Linked DNA regions of Homo sapiens: all the other regions are linked to region 2. Evidence: promoter capture Hi-C in human tissues and cell types (Jung and others, 2019). All regions are on one chromosome and are shown on one strand. Each heading gives the region's core, a stretch centred on a gene start or on the middle of the fragment in contact. The rest is flanking DNA. Distances are from core to core; before and after follow the strand shown. Region 1 overlaps MPV17L-BMERB1 (MPV17L-BMERB1 readthrough). Region 2 holds the start of PDXDC1 (pyridoxal dependent decarboxylase domain containing 1). Region 3 overlaps NDE1 (nudE neurodevelopment protein 1).

Region 1 (4,606 bases), core at 1,385-3,884, 580 kb before region 2:
AAGTTTGGTGGGCTTAGAGAAAGCCCTTAAGAGAAACTCCGCTTGGGCAGGCTTCTGGGAAGGATAATTAGGGCCTTCGGTTCTCCCCTGTCCTGGTCCTAAGCTCCTACAGCCACTCACGTGAGAATGGCGAAACCGAACGCTAACCTGATGAAGCCCACCAAACTTAACTTGCCTTGCTTGCTTTTAACCACTTACTTCTAGCTGGTCTTAAAACTTATATAGCTAAAAGTCAAGCAGCCAAATGATATATACCTAACCCCCCCACCGGCTTCCTTACATATGTCACTATATGTCATTATGGTACATATATGTCATATGTCACATATATGTCGCTACGACACATATGTGACTACGGTAATGGTTGCTTAAAGTTGTTTTTCAGGACTATGGGGGCAGCTCCTGTCCAGTTCGAACCCGTTGAGATCAATGACCCTTCAACTGAACCTGTGCAAATGCCGGAGAAGTGACCTTTTGACGTCAGAGGGCCCAAAACTCCCCGAGATCATGCTAATGCTGCCATTTTCTAAACATGCACCCTATGAAGATCCAGGAAGCTTGGCTATGTATGTGCAGATTGCCAATGACCTCACTTTTCCTTGCCTCCAATCACCTCTTCCCACACTTTAGACCACCCTGCTCCTTTATTCCATAAAGATCCCTAAATTCCATCTTCAGGGAGGCAAGTATGAGACCTTTTCTCCTGCCTCCTTGCTTGGCTGCGTTGGTGTGAATAAATTCTTTTCTTTTGCCAAATCCATCATAACAGCGATTGGCTTACTACCCATGGGCAGAAGGGGACAGGTTCGCTATCTAGGGCAGAGGGGAGGAAAGGAAACAGCCAGACCCTTGATAGCATCCTGGGGCCACCCCACTGACCCTCGGGCCACCTGCATCTGGACTGCTTATCAAGTCAAAAAAAATTTTTTTTTTTGAGACGGAGTCTAGCTCTGTTGCCCAGGCTGGAGTGCAGTGGCATGATCTCGGCTCACTGCAACCTCCGCCTCACAGGTTGAAGCCATTCTCTGCCTCAGCTTCCCGAGTAGCTGGGATTACAGGCATCCACCACCAAGCCTGGCTAATTTTTGTATTTTTAGGAGAGATGGAGTTTCACCATCTTGGCCAGGCTGGTCTTGAACTCCTTACCTCGTGATCCACCTGCCTCAGCCTCCGAAAGTGTTGGGATTACAGGTGTGAGCCACTGTGTCCAGCCTCAAGTAAATATTAAATGTCCTTATGACTTAAGTAGTGTGAACAACTGACTTGGTTTGCCTGGGGCTGTCCCAGTTTCTGCACTGCAGTTTCCAGATCCTTGGAAACCTCTCAGTCCCAGGCAAACAGAGACAGCTGGTCACCCAAGATTTAAGACACTAGTCGTCGGACGCTGTGTTACTTGCAGCTGAAGACATTTTCACAGATACATATGTGTGGATAGGTGCATTTTTAATGTGTATTGGATCAAGACATACAGCTGTCCTGCTCATTGCAAGCATGACATCATGATGATTTTCCAATGCCATTAAATCATATTGTTCAAAAGACATGTGAATAGTTCATGCAAAGTGCTTTAAAAGCATAGCTGGAAGTTCGAATAAGCCATGCTTTAGAAGCATGGCTGGAACTTTGAATAAGCCACATTAGTCCAGGTCTCTGTACCATTAGGGCTGAACCTGGAAATCAAACTCTGCTGCTGCCGGCTCGTTCCAGAGAGAGATGTTATCTTCAAGAACCTGATTAATGTTCGGAAGGAAAAGAAAGCCAACCCGTGTCATTCAGCATCTTGGTCTTTCACGCTGGGACGATAGGGGAAAGCGGGTCATTTTTATCAGCGTTGGGTGCGGAGAGGTGATCAGGCCCTGCTGGAATAATAGAGCTGCTGCTTTACAAAATGTTTGTGAAAACGACATGAAATGGAGGCATCAGCAGCTTGAGTTGCAGCCTAATGGAAACCCAGCAGAGACCACGACAAAGGCAGAGGTAGGTTTTCAGAGGCAAGGATTGACTTTTAAAAATAGTCTTTATTGTCTCCTTTTAAAAATAAGTTACAGAGGCTGCAGGTATCTTAAGACAGGTGAGAAAAAGATGTCATGTCTGGGCCGGGCGCGGTGGCTCACGCCTGTAATCCCAGCACTTTGGGAGGCCGAGGAGGGCGGATCACGAGGTCAAGAAATCGAGACCAGCCTGGCCAACATGGTGAAACCCTGTCTCTACTAAAAATACAAAAATTAGCTGGGCGTGGTGGCACGTGCTTGTAGTCCTAGCTACTCAGGAGGCTGAGGCAGGAGAATCACTTGAACCTGGGAGGTGGAGGTTGCAGTGAGCCGAGATTGCACCACTGCACTCCAGCCTGGCAACAGAGCGAGACTCCGTCTCAATAAATAAATAAATAAATAAAAATAAATAAATAAGATGAGGGGTTTAGATGAGCCCTCGAGCCCCATTCTGCAAGCACAGAGAGGATACAACCCGCTTTAGACACAGCCAGATCTCAATGCAGATCTCAGTACCCCCATTGACTGGCTATGACCTACTTTGCTGCTCTCAGCCTCAGTGCTGTCACTGTTGAAAAGGGATTACACCTTTGTCTTGGGGTTGTATGAGAATCAAACAGGCTTGTGTGTGTGGTGCAGGCAGCCCACGGTTTTGCACAGGCAGTGTGGGTGTGTAGGAACAGCCACTTCCATCCACTCCTCCACCCTAGGTAAAAAGTCAGCTCACAGAGACTCTCCTGGACTATCTCAGCCAACATTTCTGTGCAAAATGTGTATCTCACTATCACATGCTATTTTTTTTTTTTTTGAGATGGAGTTTCGCTCTTGTCGTCCAGGCTGTAGTGCAATGGCGGGATCTTGGCTCACTGCAACCTCACCTCCCAGGTTCAGGCGATTCTCCTGCCTCAGCCTCCCAAGTAGCTGAGATAACAGGCACTTGCCACCATGCCCAGCAAATTTTTGTATTTTGGTAGAGAGGGGATTTCACTATGTTGGCCAGGCTGGTCTCGAACTCCTGACCTCAGGTGATCCACCCGCCTCAGCTTCCCAAAGTGCTGGGATTACAGGCATGAGCCACCGCGCCTGGCCAGCATGTGCTATTACAATTTCCTCAAATCAAATGGTTCCAAGATGATAAACATGTGCATTGGTTCAGCTTTCGTAGGATTCATGAGCTTAAACGCTATCCCTGGGTAAGGATAAGTGTTGATAAGTGTCCAGGGAGCCCCTGGCCTCAGCAATTTCTCAGCATCTTGCTGGGGACCAAGGGACCGGAGAGGTGCCTGCCAGTGTACATAGGAAGGGAATGCCCTCATGTTGCACCCTGGAAGGCCAATATGTCTGTTTTCTCTCTGTGGCCATTTTAATGGACTGTGGATTTACATCCACCTGTCACACTGGCCTTTCCTTTGATTGCAGTCAGACACTCGTTCCCAAACAAATGTCACCTTCTTCAAGACCCTTGTTCCCACTCTGTTCCCAAATGTCAACTTCCTCAAGCGCAGTTTATTCTTCTCTCTTCCAAGGGCTTTCTAGACTGCCTTAGTTTTCATTTTTCTTACAATAACAACTACTAATACTGCTCTTTTCTGTATGTATGATATAAAAAAATTATGGCCAGGCACAGTGGCTCATGCCTGTAATCCCAGTACTTTGAGGCTGAGATGGGAGGATCGATAGAGTCCAGGAGTTCGAGATTAGCCTAGGCAACATAGCGAGACTCTGTCTCTACACAATAAAAAAATTAGCTATGCCTGGTGGTGTGTACCTGTGGTTCCAGCTACCAGAGAGGCTGAGGTAGGAGGATCACTTCAGCCCAGGAGGTTGAGCTCCTGGGTGAGCCATGATCACACCACTGTACTCCAACCTGGGAGGCAAGGATTGACTTTTGAAAATAGTCAATTTTCTTGACGTGGGTTTCCAGCTGTCTGCCTTGACAGAGTGAGACCCTGTCTCAAAACAAACAAACACCAGTATTGCTTAGTTACCTTTGTTTTAGACCTAAAAGAATACTTGCTCCTGGCCGGGCACGGTGGCTCAAGTCTGTAATCCCAGCACTTTGGGAGGCCGAGGCGGGCGGATCACAAGGTCAGGAGATCGAGACCATCCTGGCTAACACGGTGAAACCCTGTCTCTACTGAAAATACAAAAAATCAGCCGGGCGTGGTGGCGGGCACCTGTAGTCCCAGCTACTTGGGAGGCTGAGGCAGGAGAATGGCGTGAACCTGGGAGGTGGAGCTTGCAGTGCGCTGAGATCATGCCACTGCACTGCAGCATGGGCGACAGAGCGAGACACCATCTAAAAAAAAAAAGAAAAAAAAAAGAATACTTGGTCCTTTTTTTTTTCTTTTTTAGAGGCAGGGTCTTACTATATTGCCCAGGCTGGACTTGAACTCCTGGGCTTAAGGGATCCTCCTGCTTCAGCCTCCCAAGTAGCTGGGAACACAGGCATATACCACCACACCCAGCTTGGTCTATTTAAAAAATTATACAAATATTACATAAATATGGTCTCACTATAAAAACATCAAACAATACAGAAGTATAATTGCTAGTACTTATTGAATGCTTTCATATGATTGGTGTCAGGCTCTGGATTAAGCATTTTACACAAA
Region 2 (4,357 bases), core at 695-3,194:
TTCCTGGAGGAAAGATCACCCCAGTTCTTCAGGATTCCAATTACAATCACATGAAGCCCACCCACCTTCTTAGGAAATTGATAACACCACTTTGCATCGTTTTGTACTCAACTGCTGGTGTTATAAACATGATCTTGACCAGGATTTCTCAGCCTCAACACTGCTGACATTTTGGGCCAGAGAATTCTCCAGCGTGGGGGGCTGTCCTGTGCAACGTAGGATGTTTAGAGGCGTCCCTGGCCTCTACCCACTAGGTACCGGCAGCACCTCCCTGCCCCCATTGTGACAATCAAAACTATGTCCAGAGATAGCCAAATGTCTCCTGGGGAAATAAATTGCCCCCTGCTTTAAGAACCACTCATCTGGACAAACTCAAAGTACCAAAAGGTAGACACCCTGCTAATCAGACGACCGGAAAGACTTTATTCCCAGCCAGGAAAACACGTAACATTCACCCCAGAGATGGCACAAGAAAACCATATTATCTTTTTCTTGTCTTCCACCCAATTTATGCTAAGCAACCCAGGAGTAGGCTATACCACTGTGAGCACATGAAGACATCTGGCCCAACCTTTACAATTATTGCCTTCAACTCTCCAGTGACAAGTGAACAAAATCTACAGCAGCTGCTGCCTTGAAAAAAGACAAAATATATTATTCCTACCAGCTCAAAATTAAAATGTAGCCGTCTTAAAACACGAGCATTGCTCCTGAATGCCACATGCATGAAAAACCGGGTATGCACTGGATTGGACAAGCAGACTCCCAAGCTGGAACAGACAGAAGGGCTTTGAGGGAGGGCAGAATGTCAGGTACCGAAAGCAGGAATCCGTGAAGAAACCCAAACTGGTTTCCATTTACAAGCCCTAACACTGGGACAATGAGAATCCGTTTCACATGGTAGAGCAGTCAGCCTGGTACACCACGCTGCCGTTCCCCCAAGGGGAAACCAGAGGTAGGCTCTGTTACCAGTGGATTTCGAGTTGACTCGGGGATCCCTCCTCGCCACTGGAATGGGGGAGCCAGGAAGTTGTGGAGCAGCTGCGATCCCCAAAACTCAATTCGCAATCTACGCAACACCCACCCCTTTCTGGAACTCAGAGGTTCTCGCCCGGTGATCGCAGGCTCAGCATCAGAATCACCTGCGTGGGGCGGAGTGGGAGCGGGGCGGTGGCGGTTAAACACGCAGTTCCCGGTCCCGCCCCCAGAGGTTCTGACCCCGGGACTGAACCTCCGCATTTTACCAAAGGCCCCAGGTGATTCCCACTCAGGCTGAAGTTGGAAAACCACTGCTTTGGCAATTTTCATTCCTAACTCGGAGACCAAGAAAAACCTACAGGTTTGCAGCTGGCTCTGAAATAACTGCGGCTTCTTTCCGGGAGCATCTGGGGCCGCCAACGGAGAGCTCCCGGTCCTCCGAAAGGGCCAGCCGAGCTCAGGCCGGCCACTCGCGGAACCTCGGCAGGGCCCAAGGTCGGCCCCGCGGTCCCAGTCCTGGGCTCCGGGCCCGTCGCGGCCCCCACCGAACCCCGCCCAGCCTCTTCGGCCCACGGGGACCCAAGAGACACCCGGCCCCGTGACGCGCCCGGGCCCCAGCCGCCCTCCCGGCGAGGCCTCCTCAGGCAGGGCCTGTCAGCCCGCGTCCCCCTGTCCGGGTCACAATGGCAGCTCGCGACTGGGAAACAGTTGCCTCGGAAGCGGGAGCCCCGGGCCGCAGCACCGTCCCCATCGCCCCCTCCCGGCACGGACCTTCTCCAGGGACGCGTCCATGGCTGAGGCGGCCGGTGGTGGCCTGGCGGTCCCGGGCTCTACTTCCTCCTCCCGCGCCCCGCAGCTCCTTCCACGCTGGCAGCGCTGACGTCCCCCGCGCCCGCGGCCGGCGGGGCGGAGAAGAGGAGGAGCTGCCAGGCGGCGCCGCGGGCTGCCGAACCTGATGGTTGAGAGGCGGCGGGGCGGGGCCCCGTAGCGCTGGGCGGAGCCCTCTGGGATTCCGTACCTGGGCGCCACGCCGGCCCTCCCTAACGTGCGCAGGTGAAGGGGGGAGGATGCCCGGTGGATTGTTCACCAAACTCTTTCCAGCAGCCTGTTGCAATCATCAAGGTAGAAGTATAATAATCACAAAGTACTATTCATGGAGTGAAAGGCTGGAAATACTAGTGACGCACCTCACTTCCGGGCCCAGGCTTCCAAGTCTCCCGCCTCACCTCCCGCCGGCATCCCTCGAGAATGGAACAGGCCATTCGCCAAGGAGGCGGTGAGCGAGTGGGCAACCTTGCGCATGCGCAGGACTCGCAGCGTCCTCGGCGCCCGGGGACTTGGGGGTTTTGGGGTTGGGGGCTGCTTAGTGAACGCTGTTCAGAGAAGGCACTGATCTAAGCTGAGGTGTTGTCTCAGACCTTACCGCCGAATTCTAGACGGAAAAAATTGTTGTAACAACCGGTCCAGCCTCTTTCATGTCACAATTATCACTTGTCAGGTAATGGGTAGTAGTAATAATGATAATATTAATACATCAGCTGCTGTTCTTCCATTTTCCTATTTCAGCAGCTCTAGGAGATCATTATCCCCATTTCGCAGTGCCGATCTAGGTAGGATTCAGACCCAAGCCCCATGAGTCCACATACTGCTTCCACTCCTACTTTACTTTAAATGTTTTAAAAAGTTAATTTTTTATTAATTTTTTTATCTTGTTAACCGATGAACTGAAGAGAAAAAAAATTAAAATCTCATTTTAATAGAGAAGGTAGGGGTGTCTCACTATGTTACCCAAGCTGGCTTCAAACTCCTGGCCTCAGGCGATCTTCCCGTCTCAGCTTCCCCAAGTGCTGGGATTACAGGCATGAGCTACCACGCCCGGCCACTTTTGCAATTTTACTGCAATGTGTTTCGAACGAATGGGGAGGGCGTACATTTGCTTAGTAGATTCCTCCCACCTTAATGTGGGAAACTGATATAGACTACCACAGTGGCAATCAATGGAACACTTCACCTCTGCGATGACGCTACAACCACAATCTTACTCCTTTTCTCTCCTGTTTTATACTCTTCGTCCCGAAATCTGTGTAAACAGGGTCACATTTTCAGCGCAGTAACTCCATGTTTTGAGCTATCTACGTTGTATTTGGTAAATTGCCTGGTTATGTTAATAAAATTATTTTCTACCAAAAAACCCTTGTGTGCTGGTTTAGACTGTACTGTGGGGATTATTCTGACTCTCTAAAGAGCTTTCCAAACAGAAGGAAAGATAGATTTATGTCTTTCAAGAATTGAAGATTGAATGTACCCCTGCTTGAGCAAAACAAGTCACTTTTCCAACGTGTTATGAAATTTTTCAAACGTAGAAAAGTTTAAACAGTTGTACAGTGAACAACCATATACCCACTACCTAGATTCTACAGTTAATTTTCCCTATATTTGCTTTAATCACATATGCATCCATATATCCATCCATCGATATATGTTAGTACATTTCACCTCTGAGCACCTCAGCATGGGTATCATTCAAAACTAGTAAATTTTACTAAAGTCACCTCCAAGTTTCTGTGGATTACATTACAAAGTATAATAGATTCTACAAAACAAATACTAGAGAGAAAAGTTAACTTTACTGTTTTAAAAGTAGACTTTGAAAACCCAACATGAAAAAGTGGAAATAATCAACCGTATTATTTATTATATTTAGCCAAACATTTATTGACTGCCATCTTGGACAGTTGTGCTGGAAATAGTATGTAAAAGAATAAGAGGCTGGTTCAAGAGCAGCCTGGCCAACAGAGTGAAACTCCGTCTCTACTAAAAATACAAAAAATTAGCTGGGCGTGGTGGCAAACACCTGTAATCCCAGCTACCTGGGAGGCTGAGGCAGGGGAATCACTTGAACCCCGGGGGCAGAGGTTGCAGTGAGCCGAGATTGTGCCACTGCGCTCCAGCCTGGGCAATAAGACGAGACTCCATCTCAAAAAACAATAAAAATACAAATAAGAGGCTGGGCCGGGCGCGGTGGCTCACGCCTGTAATCCCAGCACTTTGGGAGGCCGAGGCGGGCGGATCACGAGGTCAGGAGATCGAGACCATCCTGGCTAACACGGTGAAACCCCGTGTCTACCAAAAATACAAAAAGAAATTAGCCGGGCATGGTGGCGGGCGCCTGTAGTCCCAGCTATTCTGGAGGCTGAGGCAGGAGAATGGCGTGAACCCGGGAGGCGGAGCTTGCAGTGAGCAGAGATCGCACCACTGCACTCCAGCCTGGGCGACAAAGCGAGACTCTGTCTCAAAAACAAAATATAATAAAAAATTTAAAAATTTAAAAAAGGCTGGGCGCGGTGGCTCATGCCTGTAATCCCAGCACTTTGAGAGG
Region 3 (4,657 bases), core at 1,431-3,930, 690 kb before region 2:
GAAATAAAGGGGCTAAGTCACAGACGGCTTTTGCAAGATGTTAAGAAACTTAGTGGCAATGGGAAACCATTGGAGAAAGTTAGGGAAGAGAGTGATGTGATATGATGGGCTCTCCTGCTTAAAAAGCTGGTCCTGGTGGCCATGGACAGGCAGAGGAAGGACAAGGCCTAAGATGGGGAGCTCCTGCAGCAATGCAAGAAAGAAAGGAAGGTGGAGGCCAGGTGCAGTGGCTCACGCCTATAATCCCAGCACTTTGACAGGCCAAGGTAGGCAGATCGCTTGAGCCTGGGAGTTTGAGACCAGCCTGGGTAACATGGAGAAACTCCGTCTCTACTAAAAATAGAAAAATATCAGCCAGCTGTGGTGGCACATGCCTGTGTTCCCAGCTACTCAGGAGGCTGAGATGGGAGGATCACCTGAGCACAGGAGGCAGAGGTTGCGGTGAGCCAAGATAGTGCCACTGCACTAAAGCCTGGGTGATGAAGTGAGATCCTATTTAAAAAAGAAAAGAGACCAGGCACGGTGGCTCATGCCTGTAATCCCAGCACTTTGGGAGGCCGAGGCAGGCGGATCATGAGGTCAGGAGATTGAGACCATCCTGTCTAACACGGTGAAACCCTGTCCCTACTAAAAATACAAAAAAATTAGCTGGGCGTGGTGGCAGGTGCCTGTAGTCCCAGCTACTCGGGAGGCTGAGGCAGGAGAATAGCGTGAACCTGGGAAGCAGAGCTTGCAGTGAGCCGAGATCACGCCACTGCACTCAAGCCTGGGCGACAGATCAAGACTCCATCTCAAAAAAAAAAAAAAAAAAAAGAAAAGAGAAAGGAACGTGGCCTGAATTAGAAAGTGAGAATAGGCCAGGTACAGTGGCTCACACGTATAATCCCAGCACTATGGGAGGCCAAGGCAAGAGGACCACTTGGGACCAGGAGTTCAAGACCAGCCTGGGAAACACAGCAAGACCCTACCTTGACAAAAAAACTTTTTAAAAAATTAGACTGGTGTGGTGCAACACATCTGTAGTCCTAGCTACTCTGGAGGCTGAGGAAGGAGGATCACATGAGTCCAGGAATTTGAGGCTGCAGTAAGCTATGATCACGGTACTGCACTCCAGCCTGGGCAAGAGAGTGAGACCTTGTCTAAAAAAAAAGAAAGTAGGAATGAAGATGGAGGGAACAGAAATGGACTCCAAAAATATTTAGAAGGCAAACTTACCAGAACTTGATGAATTATGACTTTTCGGGGCAGGGGAGAGAGAAAAAGGAGGTGAGGACATCTTCTGGGGCTCTACCTTAGGCAATTGGGTGCCGCCACCATCCCCATCACCAGAGATAAAGACTTCCAGAAGGTGGCTGGGTGCAGTGCCTCGCACCTGTAATCCCAGCACATTGGTAGGCCAAAGCAGGTGGAATGCTTGAGCCCAGGAGTTCCAGACCAGCCTGGGCAACCTGGTGAGACCCTATCTCTACAAAAAATACAAAAACTAGCTGGTCATGGTGGTGTGTCTGTAGTTCCAGCTACTCGAGAGGATGAGGGGCAAGGAGAGGTCGAGGCTGCAGTGACCCATGACCATGCCACTGTACTCCAGCCTGGGCAACACAGCAAGATCCCGTCTCAAAAAAAAAGGACAATCAAAAGGAAAACTCGGCCGGGCGCGGTGGCTCACACCTGTAATCCCAGCACTTTGGGAGGCCGAGGCAGGTGGATCACGAGGTTAGGAGATCAAGACCATTCTGGCTAACATGGTGAAACACTGTCTCTATTAAAAATACAAAAAATTATCCAGGCCTGGCAGCGGGTGCCTGTAGTCCCAGCTAGTCAGGAGGCTGAGGCAGGAGAATGGCTTGAACCCGGGAGGCGGAGCTTGCAGTGAGCCGAGATGGCGCCACTGCACTCCAGCCTGGGTGACAGAGCGAGACTCAAAAAAAAAAAAAAAACAAGTAAAACTCTTGGGTAGGTGGGTGGGTTAAGGAGAGATAACAAACCCAGTCTCAGACATTCACAGCTTGACATGTCCATGACACACCAAGATGCAATATCGCAGCTGAAACTCAGGGTTGAAATTGGGTCAACAATATCCATTTGAAAGTCATGCGTCTATAGCTGGTTTTTCTCTTTTCCTCGTGACCATGGAAGAATCGCCTAGGGACTGTGTATGGAACAGTGAAGAATGCCAATATTGGAAAGGTGGGCAGTTTAAGAAATGGTAACCGAAGGAGGCAGAGAAGAAACAGAGTGAGAGAGATGAGAATCAGGAAGACTGTGCTGTCCTGGGAGTGGGCGGTTTCAAGGGAAAAAAGGGAAACATTCCAGTGTCACAAGGATGCAACAGAGAAGCAGGGAAGATAAGGGCTGGAAAATATCCACAAGGCTGAGCGAAAGTCGGTCACTGGCGGTGTGAGCAAGAACAGTTTCTACACAGTGGAGGAGGAAAGACGAAGAACTGAGTGCAGGAGTAACTGGGAGGTGAAAAAGAGGAAAGCGATGGAATTCTGGAGAATTACCTAAAAGACGATGAAATAAATTAGCCAACAGCTAGAGGATGTGGGCGGTAGGGGCCTTGGCTCTCAGGACTTTGAGCTGTTTCACAGCAGAGGTGAGGGAAGCAATTTTTTTTTTAAGAGATAGGGTCTCAATCTGTCAACCCAGCTGGAGTGCAGTGACACAATCATAGCTCACTGCATCTTTGAACTCCTAGGCGGCACTGATCCTCCTGCCTCAGCCTCCTGACTAGCTGGGACTACAGGTATAGGCCACTACGCCAAGCTAATTTTTTTTTTAAGAGATGGGGTCTTACTATGTTGCCTAGGCTGGTCTCAAATTCCTGGGCTCAAGCGATCCTCCTGCCTTGTACTCCCAAAGCACTAGGATTCTAGGTGTGAGCCACCACACCCAGCAAGAAAGCAGACTTCTATTAACAGTTGGGCTAACGGTTTGTATACTCCCTGTTGATAGAGGCTGTTTGATGTAATCACCTATTTTCTGAATTTATTTGAGGCTCTGAGCTTGTCAAAAGGGCATGAGGAATCCAAGTAAGATTGTGTCCAGGCCAGACTCAGTGGCTCGCATCTGTAATCCCAGCACTTTGGGAGGCCGAGGCGGGCAGATCACAAGGTCAGGAGTTTGAGACCAGCCTGGCCAATATGGTGAAACCCCATCTCTACTAAAAATACAAAAATTAGGCGGGCGCAGTGGCAGGTACCTGTAGTCCCAGCTACTCAGGCGGCTAAGGCAGGAGAATTGCTTGAACCCAGGAGGTGGAGGTTGCAATGAGCTGAGATCGTGCCACTGCACTCCAGCCTGAGTGACAGAGCGAGACTCCGTCTCAAAAAAAAAAAAAAAAAAGATTGTGTCCAAGGCCGGGCGCAGTGGCTCACACCTGTAATCCCAGTACTTTGGGAGGCCAGGGCAGGTGAATCACCTGAGCTCAGGAGTCTGAAACCAGCCTGGCCAACACACTGAAACCCCATCTCTACTAAAAATATAAAAATTAGCCGGGCATGGTGGTGTGCGCCTGTAATCCCCACTACTCGGGAGGCTGAGGCGGGAGAATCACTTGAACCCAGAAGGCAGAGGTTGTAGTGAGCCGAGATCGCACCACTGCACTCCAGCCTGGGTGACAGAGTGAGACTTCCTCTCAAAAAAAAAAAAAAAAAAAAAAAAAAAAAGATTGTGTGCAAGGTCCCTTCCTTCCCTCAAGAGAACTTAGAGGCTGGTGTGTATCCCTGGGGACAAAAGAATGAGCAAAAACCATCACTTTCTAAGATATAACCAACAAGCTATATAGTTTTGGTTAAAACATGAAATCATTAGGCTAAACATGTAAGTGTCAACACAGACACCACCACTAACTTCTGGTGGAAGTTAGTGAGCCTCACCCATGTTGAGCCAATGACAGAGGTGGGCCTAATTCATGCAGAACCAGGAAATGCACAATTGTACCTAGATTCAAGCACAAAACTTACCGATAACTCTGCATTTGTTGGGACTCATATTCACATCCTTTCTCCCTCCTACTTTTTCAATCCTTTCCCTCATTCAGAGAAAACATGCTATTTCCCGACCCACTCATCCCTCTGGAAAGCAGATTCTCTGAAAGTTTGATCAAGGCAGAAAGGCGAAATGTCATACAAAGCTGGCCAGACGTGGTGGCTCATGCCTGTAATCTCAACACTTTGGGAAGCTGAGGCAGGCAGATGACTTGAGGTCAAGAGTTCAAGACAAGCTTGGCCAACATGGTAAAATCCTGTCTACACTAAAAGCACAAAAATTAGCTGGGTGTGGTGGCAGGCACCTATGATCCCAACTACTCGGGAGGCTAAGGCATGAGAATCGCTTGAACCCGGGAGCCAGAGGTTGCAGTGAACCACGATCACACCACTGCACTCCAGCCTGGGCAACAGAGCAAGACTCCATTTCAAAAACATATAAACAAAAAATAAATAAATGTCATATAAAGCTAATGATTTGTAGTTTTGCTTGTTTTTTCCAGACATGCATTCATTTTTCCATCTTCTGTGACAGCACAATATTCCCTTGGGAGAATACCCTACTCATTTCATGAGTTCAGAGGGATCTGACATCATCCTCCACACCTGGGAAGAGGCATATGCCTATTCACGACCTTAGTGATCAGCTCATGGGTGGGCCTAACCCA

The links. Contacts are between HindIII fragments. The study calls those that stand out against the background at their distance.
Region 1: a fragment that was not itself captured here is called in contact with the fragment with the promoter of PDXDC1 in region 2 in 1 of the 25 tissues and cell types used here (dorsolateral prefrontal cortex).
Region 3: a fragment that was not itself captured here is called in contact with the fragment with the promoter of PDXDC1 in region 2 in 2 of the 25 tissues and cell types used here (liver and spleen).

What each region holds. Positions count from the first base shown.
Region 1 is chr16:15,554,372-15,558,977 of GRCh38, reverse strand. All of the region lies in intron 2 of MPV17L-BMERB1 (MPV17L-BMERB1 readthrough), which reads right to left. All of the region lies in intron 2 of BMERB1 (bMERB domain containing 1), which reads right to left. Among named protein-coding and RNA genes, the nearest start is that of MIR6506, 54 kb to the left of the region's middle. The HindIII fragment of the contact is 5,471 bases long and covers 1-4,606 here.
Region 2 is chr16:14,972,613-14,976,969 of GRCh38, reverse strand. It overlaps PDXDC1 (pyridoxal dependent decarboxylase domain containing 1), which reads right to left and starts at 1,944. Exons shown (of 23, transcript NM_015027.4): 1 at 1,750-1,944. The coding sequence starts at 1,770. RefSeq lists an enhancer at 1,863-2,626 and a silencer at 2,784-3,078. The HindIII fragment of the contact is 18,558 bases long and covers 1-4,357 here.
Region 3 is chr16:15,658,437-15,663,093 of GRCh38, reverse strand. All of the region lies in intron 1 of NDE1 (nudE neurodevelopment protein 1), which reads right to left. Among named protein-coding and RNA genes, the nearest start is that of NDE1, 11 kb to the right of the region's middle. The HindIII fragment of the contact is 8,992 bases long and covers 1-4,657 here.